Linked DNA regions of Homo sapiens: region 2 is linked to region 1. Evidence: promoter capture Hi-C in 16 types of primary human blood cells and fetal thymus (Javierre and others, 2016). All regions are on one chromosome and are shown on one strand. Each heading gives the region's core, a stretch centred on a gene start or on the middle of the fragment in contact. The rest is flanking DNA. Distances are from core to core; before and after follow the strand shown. Region 1 holds the start of CCT2 (chaperonin containing TCP1 subunit 2). Region 2 has its middle 11 kb from the start of HELB.

Region 1 (6,258 bases), core at 571-3,070:
ACATTTCCTGAAAGAAGACCAAATTTTCCTACAAAGAAGAGAAAACTCTTGGGAGATTTAAAATAACAATTTGTCCAGCCTGAACTCCCCTTTTCATGTTGGACCTGAGGAATACTGTAAACCAGGGTCAGCAAACTTTTTCTGTAAAGAATTAGATAATACATGTTTTAGGTTTTGTGGGCCCATTCAACCTGTCATGACTACTCAACTCTGCCACATAACTCTGCTATCGTATTGTGACAGAGTAAATATGTATGGGTATGCCCATGGATTCCAATGAAGCTTTATGGACACTGAAATATTAATTTCACAGGATTTTCATGTGTCAGGAAATTTTTGATTTCTTTCAACCACTTAAAAATGTAAAAACTATTCTTAGCTCTCAGGCCATACAAAAAACAACTGGCAGGCTGGGTTTGACTCCTCACAGCTTGCCAACCCCTGGTGGAAATCAACCCACTTAGAGGAAATCTGAAGGGTAGAAACAACTAAAAAATTGAAAATTCCTGTTAATGTTAGCAATGTCAAAAATCCAGGAGACCCCAGCTACTCAGGAGACCAAGGCAGGAAGATTGCTTGAGCCCAGGAGTTCCAGGCCAGCCTGGGCAACATAGAAGACCCCATCTCTAAAAAAAACAAAACAGAAAAAGAAAAATCCAGGAGCTTGTTTTGTTTTGTTTTTGTTTTGAGACAGAGTCTCGCTCTGTTGCCCAGGCTGGAGTGCAGCGGCGTGATCTCGGCTCACTGAAACCTCTGCCTCCCGGGTTCAAGCAATTATCCTGCCTCAGCCTCCTGAGTAGCTGGGATTACGGGCATGCACACCACGCCCGGCTAATTTTTGTATTTTCAGTAGAGACAGGGTTTCACCATGTTGGCCAGGCTGGTCTCCAACTCCTGACCTCAGGTGATCCGCCCACCTCGGCCTCCCAAAGTGCTGGGATTACAGGGGTGAGCCACCGCGCCCTGCCGAGGAGCTTAAGCGATCAGTTAGTCAAAGGGAGAAAAGAGGGTATCAGTAGATGACAGAAAAATTTTTTAGAGAACAAATTTTTAGACATCCGTCAACTTAGAGAAAGTAGAAAACTGTCTATAATAAACTGAAATATTTGGGACTGATCTTGATGTCTGCCAAGGTTTTGGCAGACATCAAGATCAGTCCCAAATATTTCAGTTTATTATAAACAAAGACTAATAAGTCGTCTCTACTATTGGAGGAAAAAAAAAAAAAAGACCGAAATGCAAAAATTCCTGAAAATGAGTAAATAGGGCAAAGATAAAATACTATAAATGTCTCTCTCAGTTCACAAGACCTTATCCTGGGCAGTCAACGTCCAGTTAGAAATAACGTCTGAAAATTCAGTAAGAGAAAAGGAAGTCTTCTTCTGTAATACTCAGTAAATAATGTTTAAAATTAACATAGCAATAATATTATCTGGGAATATGATAGTAAATAGCCCCTCCAAAAAACTGAAAAAGTTGAAAGCAGTTTTCCTGGAGACAGGAAGTGGTGAGGCAGATAAATTATGTTTTTCCTTATTGGTATATAACACTTTAAACTGTGTACATGTGTGACTTTAATAGAAGTGTTTAAAGATTAAATTTAAGAAAATAAAAAGTGTGAGCAAGAACTCCATTTCTATGGCAACCCGCGCGGCAGCCGCCTCTTTGTTCTGGAGCGGCGGCCACGCCCCCTCCAGTGTGAAAGGCTGCGTTTCCGGCCCGTGGGGCTCCAATCAAAATGGGACGCCTGCTGGCGGTAACGACAGGCCGGGGCCCCGCCCCCCGAAGTAGGGCGTGTGGCGTCACTTCCGGCTTCCTTCAGTCCGCTGGTCCCGAGCACGAGCTGTGAGGGGATTCACTTGTGTGCGGAACTCCTCGGAACCATGGTGAGCCTGACTCCCCTGCCTCTTGCCCTACCCCTGCTCCGCCGTGCTCTTGCCACCCCACTGCTTCCTCTGTCCTGCTAGGGTCGTAGGCTCCGTTTCTGTCTCCCCGGCCCTCCGCACATGGTGCGAGCCATGCGCGGGGCGTGCGGCCTGCGCCAGGCCAGCCGGTGGAGCTCACCACGAGGGGGAGGGGTGGACCGCAAAGCCAGCGTCTCCTTGTGCCTAGGTCTTTGCATAGTCCCGGCAGCCCAGGTCCGCGCCTCACCCGGAGCGAAGAAATTTCTAGTGTGGGACCCGCTCCGCCCTCCTTCTAGGGGCGGAGCCTGGAGCGACGGGGTCTGAGCCATCAGAGGGTGGAGGGGCCGCAGCCTTCCGAGGGTGGAAGATGGAGGCCGCGTTCCCTCGCCCGCCCGGCAGGCGTCACCTTGATGGCCTGCAACCCCTCCCTGCCTCATTCTTAGTTCAAGATCGTCTTTAGTCTCGCTGTACGTAACTGTCAATCTCGCTGGTGTATAATTTATACTCCCGGGGGCCTTGTAAATCCGAAAAGCCATGTCGCTCTCCTACAAGTCCCTCTCTCCCACTTAAATGCTTTCTCCGATGATGGAAGCTTCATTTGATTGAAAACATTGTTGTAAATGAGTTTTCTCTTAGATGTCCACTTGTAAGACTAGTGGAAGGCACCTCAGTGTATGTGTTAGAGTATTGGTACTTAAACGGAATGCCTCTTGGTTTTCCTTTTCAGGCGTCCCTTTCCCTTGCACCTGTTAACATCTTTAAGGCAGGAGCTGATGAAGAGAGAGCAGAGACAGCTCGTCTGGTAAGCCTTGTTCTAAGCATTGTTTTAAAGATAAAACTGGAGGCCAGGCGCGGTGGCTTACTCCTGTAATCCCAGTACTTTGGGAGGCCGAGGTAGGCGGATGAACTGAGGTCAGGAGTTCGAGACCAGCCTGGCCAACATGGTAAAACCCCGTTTCTACTAGAAATACAAAAATTAGCCGGGCGTGGTGATGGGCACCTGTAATCCCAGCTACTCGGGAGGCTGAGGCAGGAGGATCGCTTGAACCCAGGAGGCGGAGGTTGCAGTGAGCTGAGATCGCGCCATTGCACTCCAGCCTGGGCGACAGAGCGACACTCTGCCTCAAAAAAAAAAAAAAGTAAATAAAGATAAAACTGTACTTGAAGACTGTAAAGTTGATTCTGATAATCTCCTTGGTTTTTACTCCAGACTTCTTTTATTGGTGCCATCGCCATTGGAGACTTGGTAAAGAGCACCTTGGGACCCAAAGGCATGGTAAGAAAAATAGAAAAGTTTTATATTTTAATATTGTTTTAGAGCGCTTGGTGGAAATATAATAACAAGCGTATTAAAATGCTTTTTAATCTTTAAAACGTTTAATTATAAAAGACAAGTATGTTCTCCTTAGTAAAAATCAGAGTCCCCAGAATCACCATCCCCAATCCCATGCCCCTCCCCAATGACAAGTACTGTTATCATTTGCACGTACATCTTCTAATATTCTGTTTATGTAGAAGTATGTGTACTTCATTATGTATTTTATACTCATGTAACATACTGTTTTATAAAACAGATACTATTTATCAATACTTTTTTGTAGCTTGCTCTTTTAAATTCCTTTCAGTGTAAGTAGATAACACTGCCCCTTTAACTGTCAAATATTATCCTGTACCTTAATTATTTTATAATTTAATTATGGCTGTATTGATAGTTTCTTTCCATTGTTTTTGCAGTTACGGTGTTGAAACAAAAACTAGTGTCTACCTGTGCTTCTAGTGTTTCTAGGGGTAGATACATGGTTTGGTTACGTGGTGTATGTATTGAAAACATTTGATGAATGGATACCACAAAATAGCTATCCAGAGTGTTTATACACTAGCACTGTGTGAGAATACTGATTGATCCATGCATTCTTCAAGATGTGCTTATGTCTTAACTTGAACCAATTATGTTCCCTTTAGGACAAAATTCTTCTAAGCAGTGGACGAGATGCCTCTCTTATGGTAACCAATGATGGTGCCACTATTCTAAAAAACATTGGTGTTGACAATCCAGCAGCTAAAGTTTTAGTTGGTAAGTCTGAATATACTTTTTCACCAACCTAATAATACTGTTTGTTAACATTTTTGAAATAACTTTATAAATAGGCTGTGTTGACCAATCGTACTGTCAATTGATGTCCACTAGTTGTTAATTATCGTTGTTAAAATACAAGCTTCAGGAGTGCCCGTATGTTGGTGGTAAAACTGTTGCATTTCAGACCTCAGAGTTCCAAATAATTTGTTGAATGAGGAACCCTGGTAAGTTTAGATTGGTAGTGAATATTTTTGGAGAATTTAGTAAGCAAAGAAGCAATTTTGAGTTAATAACTAATTTCTTTTTCTAGATATGTCAAGGGTTCAAGATGATGAAGTTGGTGATGGCACTACCTCTGTTACCGTTTTAGCAGCAGAATTATTAAGGGTAAGAGCAACTAAGCAACTCTTTTTTCCTACTGTGTTTTTGAGTATCAGAGGTAATCTAGTCCTTACTTCCTCTGTCTTTACTATTGAGGAGTGCTTAATAATTTTCTATTTATAACTTTTGTTTTATAACTTTATTAATAGGAAGCAGAATCTTTAATTGCAAAAAAGATTCATCCACAGACCATCATAGCGGGTTGGAGAGAAGCCACGAAGGCTGCAAGAGAGGCGCTGTTGAGTTCTGCAGTTGATCATGGGTTTGTATAGCAAAGTACTACTGTTCTAAACATTTAGTGTTCTTTCATAACATGCTTAATGCAAGAAATCTATAGGACACTGAAAAGCATACACAAAGATCATCTTGCTGCCTCACCCCACTCCAACAGTCAAACCTACATCAGCCTCCAGAGATAGCCACTAAAGTTAAGTTTGGGTTTTTAGTCTTTTTGTATATATCATCAAAATATACAAATAAAGCAAATAGTATAATACTGTATAGAGAATTTGTTAGCCTCTTTTTAACCTAGTTAAATATTAAGCACATTTTTGGATGTCAATTTTCTGTGCAGTATTTTAATAGAGTTACACATTTGAATATTTGGCTAGAATGACTGTATTAACCTATCTGTAGGGGGAGATTTGTGTATTTGATGATTTTTAGCATTATAAAATAACTTTGTGACGTTGCGACATAGCCCAAAGGTTTCTAGAAGTGTAATTGTTGGGTCCAAAGGTAAGTGTGTGTGTTTTAAGGCACCCCCAAACCTGGGCTGCACAGCAGGTGAGCAGCAGGTGGAAAAATTGTCTTCCCATGAAACCAGTCCCTGGTGCCAAAAAGGTCCGGGACCACTGTTTTAAGGCACTTCTATTTATTTGCCCATTCACAACTGTATAATAATACTTGTTTTTCACGTCCTTTTATTTATTTATTTATTTTGAGACGGAGTCTCGCTCTTAGAGTTGCCCAGAATGGAGTGCAGTGGCACGACTTCGGCTGACTGCAACCTCTGCCTCCCGGGTTCAAGCGATTCTCTTGCCTCAGCCTCCCAAGTAGCAGGGACTACAGGCATGTGCCATCATAGCCAGCTAATTTTGTATTTTTAGTGTAGATGGGGTTTCACCATGTTGCTCAGGCTGGTCTTGAACTGACCTCAAGTGATCCATCCTCCTCAGTCTCCCAAAGTGCTAGGATTACAGGCGTGAGCCACTGTGCCCGGCCATTTCTCACATTCTTGCCAACATTAGACTTTTGCATGCTTGTGTGGCCCCCACCCCTCTTTTTTTTTTGGCATTTTGCCAGTTTGGTGGGGAAAATAACATCTTTAATTTGTGTTTCTTGATTACTGCTGAGGTTTAATTCTTTTCATATAGCTTACAGACTTGATCAGTTAGGGTAAAATTATCTATTGACATGAATATCTAGATAAATTTTGAAAAGTAAAGTAGGGTTAATATGTATATTTGGTTGGTTTTATTTAGTTCCGATGAAGTTAAATTCCGTCAAGATTTAATGAATATTGCGGGCACAACATTATCCTCAAAACTTCTTACTCATCACAAAGACCACTTTACAAAGTTAGCTGTAGAAGCAGTTCTCAGACTGAAAGGCTCTGGCAACCTGGAGGCAATTCATATTATCAAGAAGCTAGGAGGAAGTTTGGCAGATTCCTATTTAGATGAAGGTATGTATGAATGTCAGATACAAGAAGCTTTGATTAGATGCTGAGGGCTGAATACTGAGTGAATTCTGTTTTGAGACCAGTGACCCTTTACAAAGCCAGTGAACTTGAATTTAAGGACATATCATATGTGCAACCATTTTTGTCATTTTATTGACAGTGTACTCCTCTTCCCGCGCTATTCCAGCATTGTTGATGATCTCTAGAGTTTA
Region 2 (5,748 bases), core at 2,769-5,268, 3.3 Mb before region 1:
TCTCAGTTCACTGCAACCTCTCCTTCCTGGGTTCAAGCGATTCTCCTGCCTCAGCCTCCAGAGTAGATGGGACTACAGGCCGAAGCCACCATGCCTGGCTAATTTTTTGTATTTTTAGTGGAGATGGGGTTTCACCACGTTGGCCAGGCTGGTCTCGAACTCCTGACCTCAGGTGATCCGCCTGCCTCGGCCTTTCAAAGTGCTGGGATTACAGGTGTGAGTCATTGTACCTGGTCTAATTTTTGTGTTTTTAGTAGAGATGGGGTTTCTCCATGTTGACCAGGCTGGTCTTGAACTCCTGACTTCAAGTGATCCACCTGTCTCGGCCTCCCAAAGAAAGGATCTTTTGAGATGGCAAAGGCAACTGTATTTTTGTGTGCTGATGGAAATAATTCAAAAAAGAGAAAAGTAAATGATATAAGAAAGAAGGGAGAATTGCTGAAGTGATATCCCTGAGTAGATGAGAGGGGATTGGGTCTAGACCATATCTAATTGAGGACTACAACAGAGGAGGTTATGTTTGATAAAATCAATAAGAAGGAACAAGGTGCAGTGTAAGATAGTAATATATTAATAATACATGTACACTATGAGGTTGATTGACACAAAAAGAAAGAATGTAGAAGTTGTGCAGCCAATCAGGAGGAAGTCATAATAAGTTAGGGGAGAAAGGTATAGAGTCGGGTGTTGGTATGACTCTTACACTGGAGTAAGCAGGGTTCTTAACCTGGCCTCAGGGGACTCCATTCTTTGAAGTGCTTTCCTCAAATCTTCTAAGACTTCCTCTGGTACTTGGGACCAGCTGATATTGGCAGTGCCATCTGGGTGGGGTGTTGCAAACTTGGGTTGGAACCCCATGTGGGCCCCCATCCTTGTTCTTCCATTTGGGGTGCTCTCTAACCCTCTGTCCCATGGATGAGGTCAACCAGATACACTGAGGAGTTCCATGAAGCCTGCCTATACAGTCACTCTGGTATTCTCTGGCCAGGCCCAGGTTTTGGGAGGGTGACCTGGCAAGCCAGTAACTCCCGTTGGGTAATACAGTATGTATGCATATATGTATGTATGTATGTATGTATGTATGTATGTATGTATGTATGTATGTATTTTAAGGTTTCTGTGCAGTTGAGCTACTGAAATGGTATCGACAGATAGATTTGGAATGGCTTAAGCTGTTTACATGACAGAGCACCTGCAAAATATCCCCAGGGATGGCCCTGAATGTGACATGGGGATCGCCTGGGGTGGAGTGCCGTGGTGTGATCTCAGCTCACCGCAACCTCCGCCTCCTGGGTTTAAGCAATTCTCCTGCCTCAGCTTCCTGAGTAGCTGGGATTACAGGCACCTGCCACCATCCATGCCTGCCTGATGTTTGTATGTTTTGCATTTTTAGTAGAGATGGGGTTTTACCATGTTGGCAAGTCTGGTCTTGAACTCTTGACCTCAAGTGATCCACCCACCTCTGCCTCCCAAAGTGCTGGGATTACAGGCGTAAGCCAGCATGCCTGGCCCTCATAGAGATATTTCAGAAAACCAGGAAAAACACAATTCGGGGAGTAGTGCTTAAATCAGAAATGCTTAAATCTTGTGCTTACTGCTGTACTTCAACAATGATATCATTTAGCAAAGAGATCATAGGTGGAGTTTTTGAAGAGTTGGACAAAAGTAGTTTCTCTCAAAATAAAAACTTATGGCCAAATATTATGGGAAAGATGTCAGCCAACAATAATCTCTCCAAAACAGAGCCACCCAGGAAAGAGGTAAAGAACATTTATTTATCCTGTATGTAGCATATATCAGTCTGTTCTCACGCCGTGAATAAAGACTGATTTAAAGACCTGAGACCAGGTAATTTAAAAGGAAAGAGGTTTAATGGACTCACAGTTCCACATTGCTAGGGAGGCCTCACAATCATGGCAGAAGACAAAGGAAGAGCAAAGGATGTCTTACATGGTGGTAGGCAAGAGAGCTTGTGTAGGAGAACTCCCCTTTTTAAAACCATCAGATCTCACGAGACTTATTCACTATCACGAGAACAGCACAGAAAAGACCCACTCCCATGATTCAGTTGCCTCCCACCAGGTTCCTCCCAAGACATGTGGGAATTACAGGTGCTGCAATTCAAGATGAGATTTGGGTGGGGACACCGCCAAGCCATATCAATGTGCTATTTATCTTAGACCCCTGTGTACAGAGTTCTTACAGGCTCATCCAGCAGCAGTGTAAAAAACAAGTAACCTTGCAATTCAAGTTATTTGTCACTTAGAGATGACAAGAGGTTGTGGTAACTTTGCAACTGTTGTGGTTTTACCCTAAGGTCCCAGAGAAGTGTGTATCTGTTTTACAAATCTCAAACAAAAGAGAGGCAACAAATCAAGGAGATTGATACTATGCTGCAGTGTATGCCTCCTCACAGCCCCAGGTTGGTTCCTGGGTGCATGCAGAGATATTTAGAACACAGAGCTGTGCCTGAACATGTAGCAGCAAAGAGCACGGTCACTGGAGCCTGACTTCTTAGGTTCAAGTCATGGTTCAGCCACTCCCAACTTTAAGCAAGTTATCTAACCTCTCAGCAGAAGTTTCCTCATAAGTAAGATAGATGCTTTAATGTTAACTATTTCATGAGGCTTTTGTGAAGAGTAAATGAGTTAATTGAAGGAGAGGACTTTGTGATGTGTGGAAAGCACAATGTAAACACTCAGTATTAGCCATTATAATTGTTGTTGTTTATAATTAAGGGAGGAAGTTAAATATATAAAATTGTTCTGTTTTCTGAGTGTGAAAGCATTGTCTTTGTACTCTCCAAATTCTGGGGTTTTTTTGTTTGTTTGTTTTCAGAAAAAAAACAAAAACAAAAACAGAGTCTTGCTCTGTCACGTAGGCTGGAGTGCAGTGGCACCATCTCCGCTAACTGCAACGTCAGCCTCCCAGATTCAAACAATTCTCCTGCCTCAGCCTCCCGAGCAGCTGGGATTATAGGTGCCTGCCACCACGCCCGGCTAATTTTTTGTATTTTTAGTAGAGAATGGGTTTCACCATGTTGGCCAGGCTGGTCTCAGACTCCTAACCTCAGGTGATCCACCCGCCTTGGCCTCCCAAAGTGCTGGGATTACAGCATGAGCCACCACTCACAGCCTATGTTTTCTTACATCAAAAATAAAATCTCAGAGATTTTGCATTCTTTAATGAATTCTGCATTGTGTAACACGAGTTATTACTGCATTATGGCTTTGTTTTTTAAAGGAGAATTTTCCAACTCTTTTGAAACTCCCCTGCATCTGCTGTCCATATCTTCATCACATTATCTTTCCACATTCTCCTTCCTGTCTCCCTTTCAGTCATTCTTTCCCTTTTTGCTCATCATTATTCCAACCTAGTTCTTCATATCTCACTTTTCTCCAATGCAGGATGATTTTCTCCCTTCTTGGCCAGAAGTGGATGTTGTATATGAAATCTTGTCACAAATGGAGGAAATTTCCAGCCATTTAAAATAAATCAGGAAAACAGACCTGCTGATCTGAATGTAGTTTATCTTTTGCAACAAGAGTGACTCTGTGGAATGCTCAAATATATTTCTATTCCAGAAAGTCAGTCTTCATCTATTGATGATTATAGATTGCATAAGCATAGCACTTTTCACATGTTCCCTGATTTGCATTCCTTCTATTCAATAATTCATTCCATAGCCCATACAACACAATATCTCATTGTCAATTTTTAATATCTCTACCTTGGTTTCAATCCATCATTCTATCTGAAATAGCAAAACCTCACTACAGTCATGCTCTGTGTTAGTTCATTTTTTGCTGCTTGTAACAGAATACTTAAAACTGGATAATTTATAAAGAAAAGGAATTTGTTTATAACTTAGAGTTATGGAGGCTGGAAAGTCTGAGGTAGAGAGAACATATCTGGTGAAAGCCTTCTTGCTGGTGGAGCAACAGGCGGCATCACATGGTGAGGGGACTGAACATGTTAGTTCAGGTCTCTCTTCTTCTCATAAAGCTACCAGTCCTGGATGTGAGGGTGATCTGTCTGTGACATCTGCCACCCCATTGATAGCCCGAGTTGACTTGGCTGATCTGGCCAGCTAGGCGGTTGTCCCCTTCCTCCCTCACCACTCCATGTGTGTCCCTCCCAAAGCTGTGCTCGGTGAAAGAGGATTACCATCCCTGATAGAAGAGGACTGGTCTTCGGTCAAGGGTATACGGGCAACTGCGCTCCCCTGCTAGAACCTCCAAACAAGCTCTCAAGGTCCACCAGTCCCACTCCCATGATAACCCATTAATCCATTGACCCATTAATCCATGAGTGGATTAATCTATTCACGAGGGAAGATACCTCATGACCCAATCACCTCTTAAATGATATGAAATGAATATACCTCATGACCCTCCTCACCTCTCAGTGCTGCCACATTGGGGATTAAGTTTCAACATGAATTTTTTTTTTCTTGAGATAGAGTGTTGTTCTGTCACCCACGCTAGAGTGCAGTGGCGCTATCTTGCCTCACTGCAACTTCCGCCTCCTGGGTTCAAGCAATTCTCGAGCTTCAGCCTCTCCATAGCTGGGATTATAGGTGTGTGCCACCACGCCTGGCTAACTTTTTGTATTTTTAGTAGAGATGGGGTTTCACCATGTTGGCCAGGCTGATCTGGAACTCCTGATCTCAAGTGATCTGCCCATCTCAGCCTCTCAAAGTGCTGGGATTACAAGCGTGAGCCATGCCGCCTGGCCCTCAACATGAATTTTGCAAGAGACAAATATTCAAACCATAGCACTCTCTATCCCCTTTCTCTCTTTTATCTTTGCTTCTGGTTCTCATCATCATTTGATATTACTTTTACTTGCTCCCTGGCTCCTTCTTAGGATGGATCCTTGCTCCTTCTTAGGATGGATCCTTGCTCCTTCTTAGGATGTACAAGGACTTGGTCTGTTTTGTTTACTGTTATTCTCCAGTACCCAGAACAGTAACTATCCTAAAATATGTATTGACTGAATAAATGAATTGTAGTCATCTACTTCTTAGTAATACTTTGCAAATGTTTGCTTTTTAAAAAGTTATACTTATCATATAGGATGAGATAAATAGTTTTCATAAAATGCCTAACAAAGACCAACATGATCAGCTAGAAACTGATCCCCAGCTCCATCTCTCTGTGGTAGCAGAGTTGATGCATTTTTGTTTTAGTGCTCACCTCAACCATGGCATGTTTGTTAGGAAAGGAGCTTCCAGAAAATGTATTTAGGAAAGCAATTCTTTTTCTTTTTCTTTTTCCTTTTTCTTTTCTTTTCTTTTCTTTTCTTTCATTTATTTTTTGGGTTAGGGTCTCACTATGTCACCCGGGCTGGAGTGCAATGGCACAATCGTAGCTCACTGAAGCCTTGAACTTCTGTCCCCAAACGATCCTGTTGCCTCAGCCTCCAAAGTAGCTGGGACTATAGGTTTGCACCGCCATGCCCAGCTTATTATTGTGTGTGTGTGTGTGTGTGTGTGTGTGTGTGTGTGTGTGGTGATGGGGTCTCTCTTTGTTGCTTAGGCTGGTCTCAAACTGCTGGCCTCAAGCAATCCTCCCACCTCGGCCTCCCACAACTCTGGAATTACTAGTGTGAGCCACCGTGCTCATTGGGAGGCAGTTCTTTTGTTTTTATTTTTATTTTTTGAGATGGAGTGTCACTCTGTCACCCAGATAGGAGTGCAGTGGCACGATCTCAGCTCACTGCAACCTCCACCTCCAAGTGATTCTC

The links. Contacts are between HindIII fragments. The CHiCAGO score rates a contact against its expected background, and 5 or more counts as called.
Region 2: a fragment that was not itself captured here is called in contact with the fragment with the promoter of CCT2 in region 1 in 1 of 17 cell types (total CD8 T cells); the score reaches 6.4 in total CD8 T cells.

What each region holds. Positions count from the first base shown.
Region 1 is chr12:69,583,639-69,589,896 of GRCh38, forward strand. CCT2 (chaperonin containing TCP1 subunit 2) reads left to right here and starts at 1,821. Exons shown (of 16, transcript NM_006431.3): 1 at 1,821-1,886; 2 at 2,632-2,706; 3 at 3,115-3,180; 4 at 3,867-3,978; 5 at 4,292-4,368; 6 at 4,512-4,624; 7 at 5,847-6,049. The coding sequence starts at 1,884. It overlaps MIR3913-1 (microRNA 3913-1), which reads right to left and starts at 1,185; the gene lies at 1,084-1,185. It overlaps MIR3913-2 (microRNA 3913-2), which reads left to right and starts at 1,085; the gene lies at 1,085-1,184. RefSeq lists an enhancer at 1,852-2,191. The HindIII fragment of the contact is 2,214 bases long and covers 281-2,494 here.
Region 2 is chr12:66,288,667-66,294,414 of GRCh38, forward strand. It overlaps the pseudogene RN7SKP166. Among named protein-coding and RNA genes, the nearest start is that of HELB, 11 kb to the right of the region's middle. The HindIII fragment of the contact is 9,012 bases long and covers 1-5,748 here.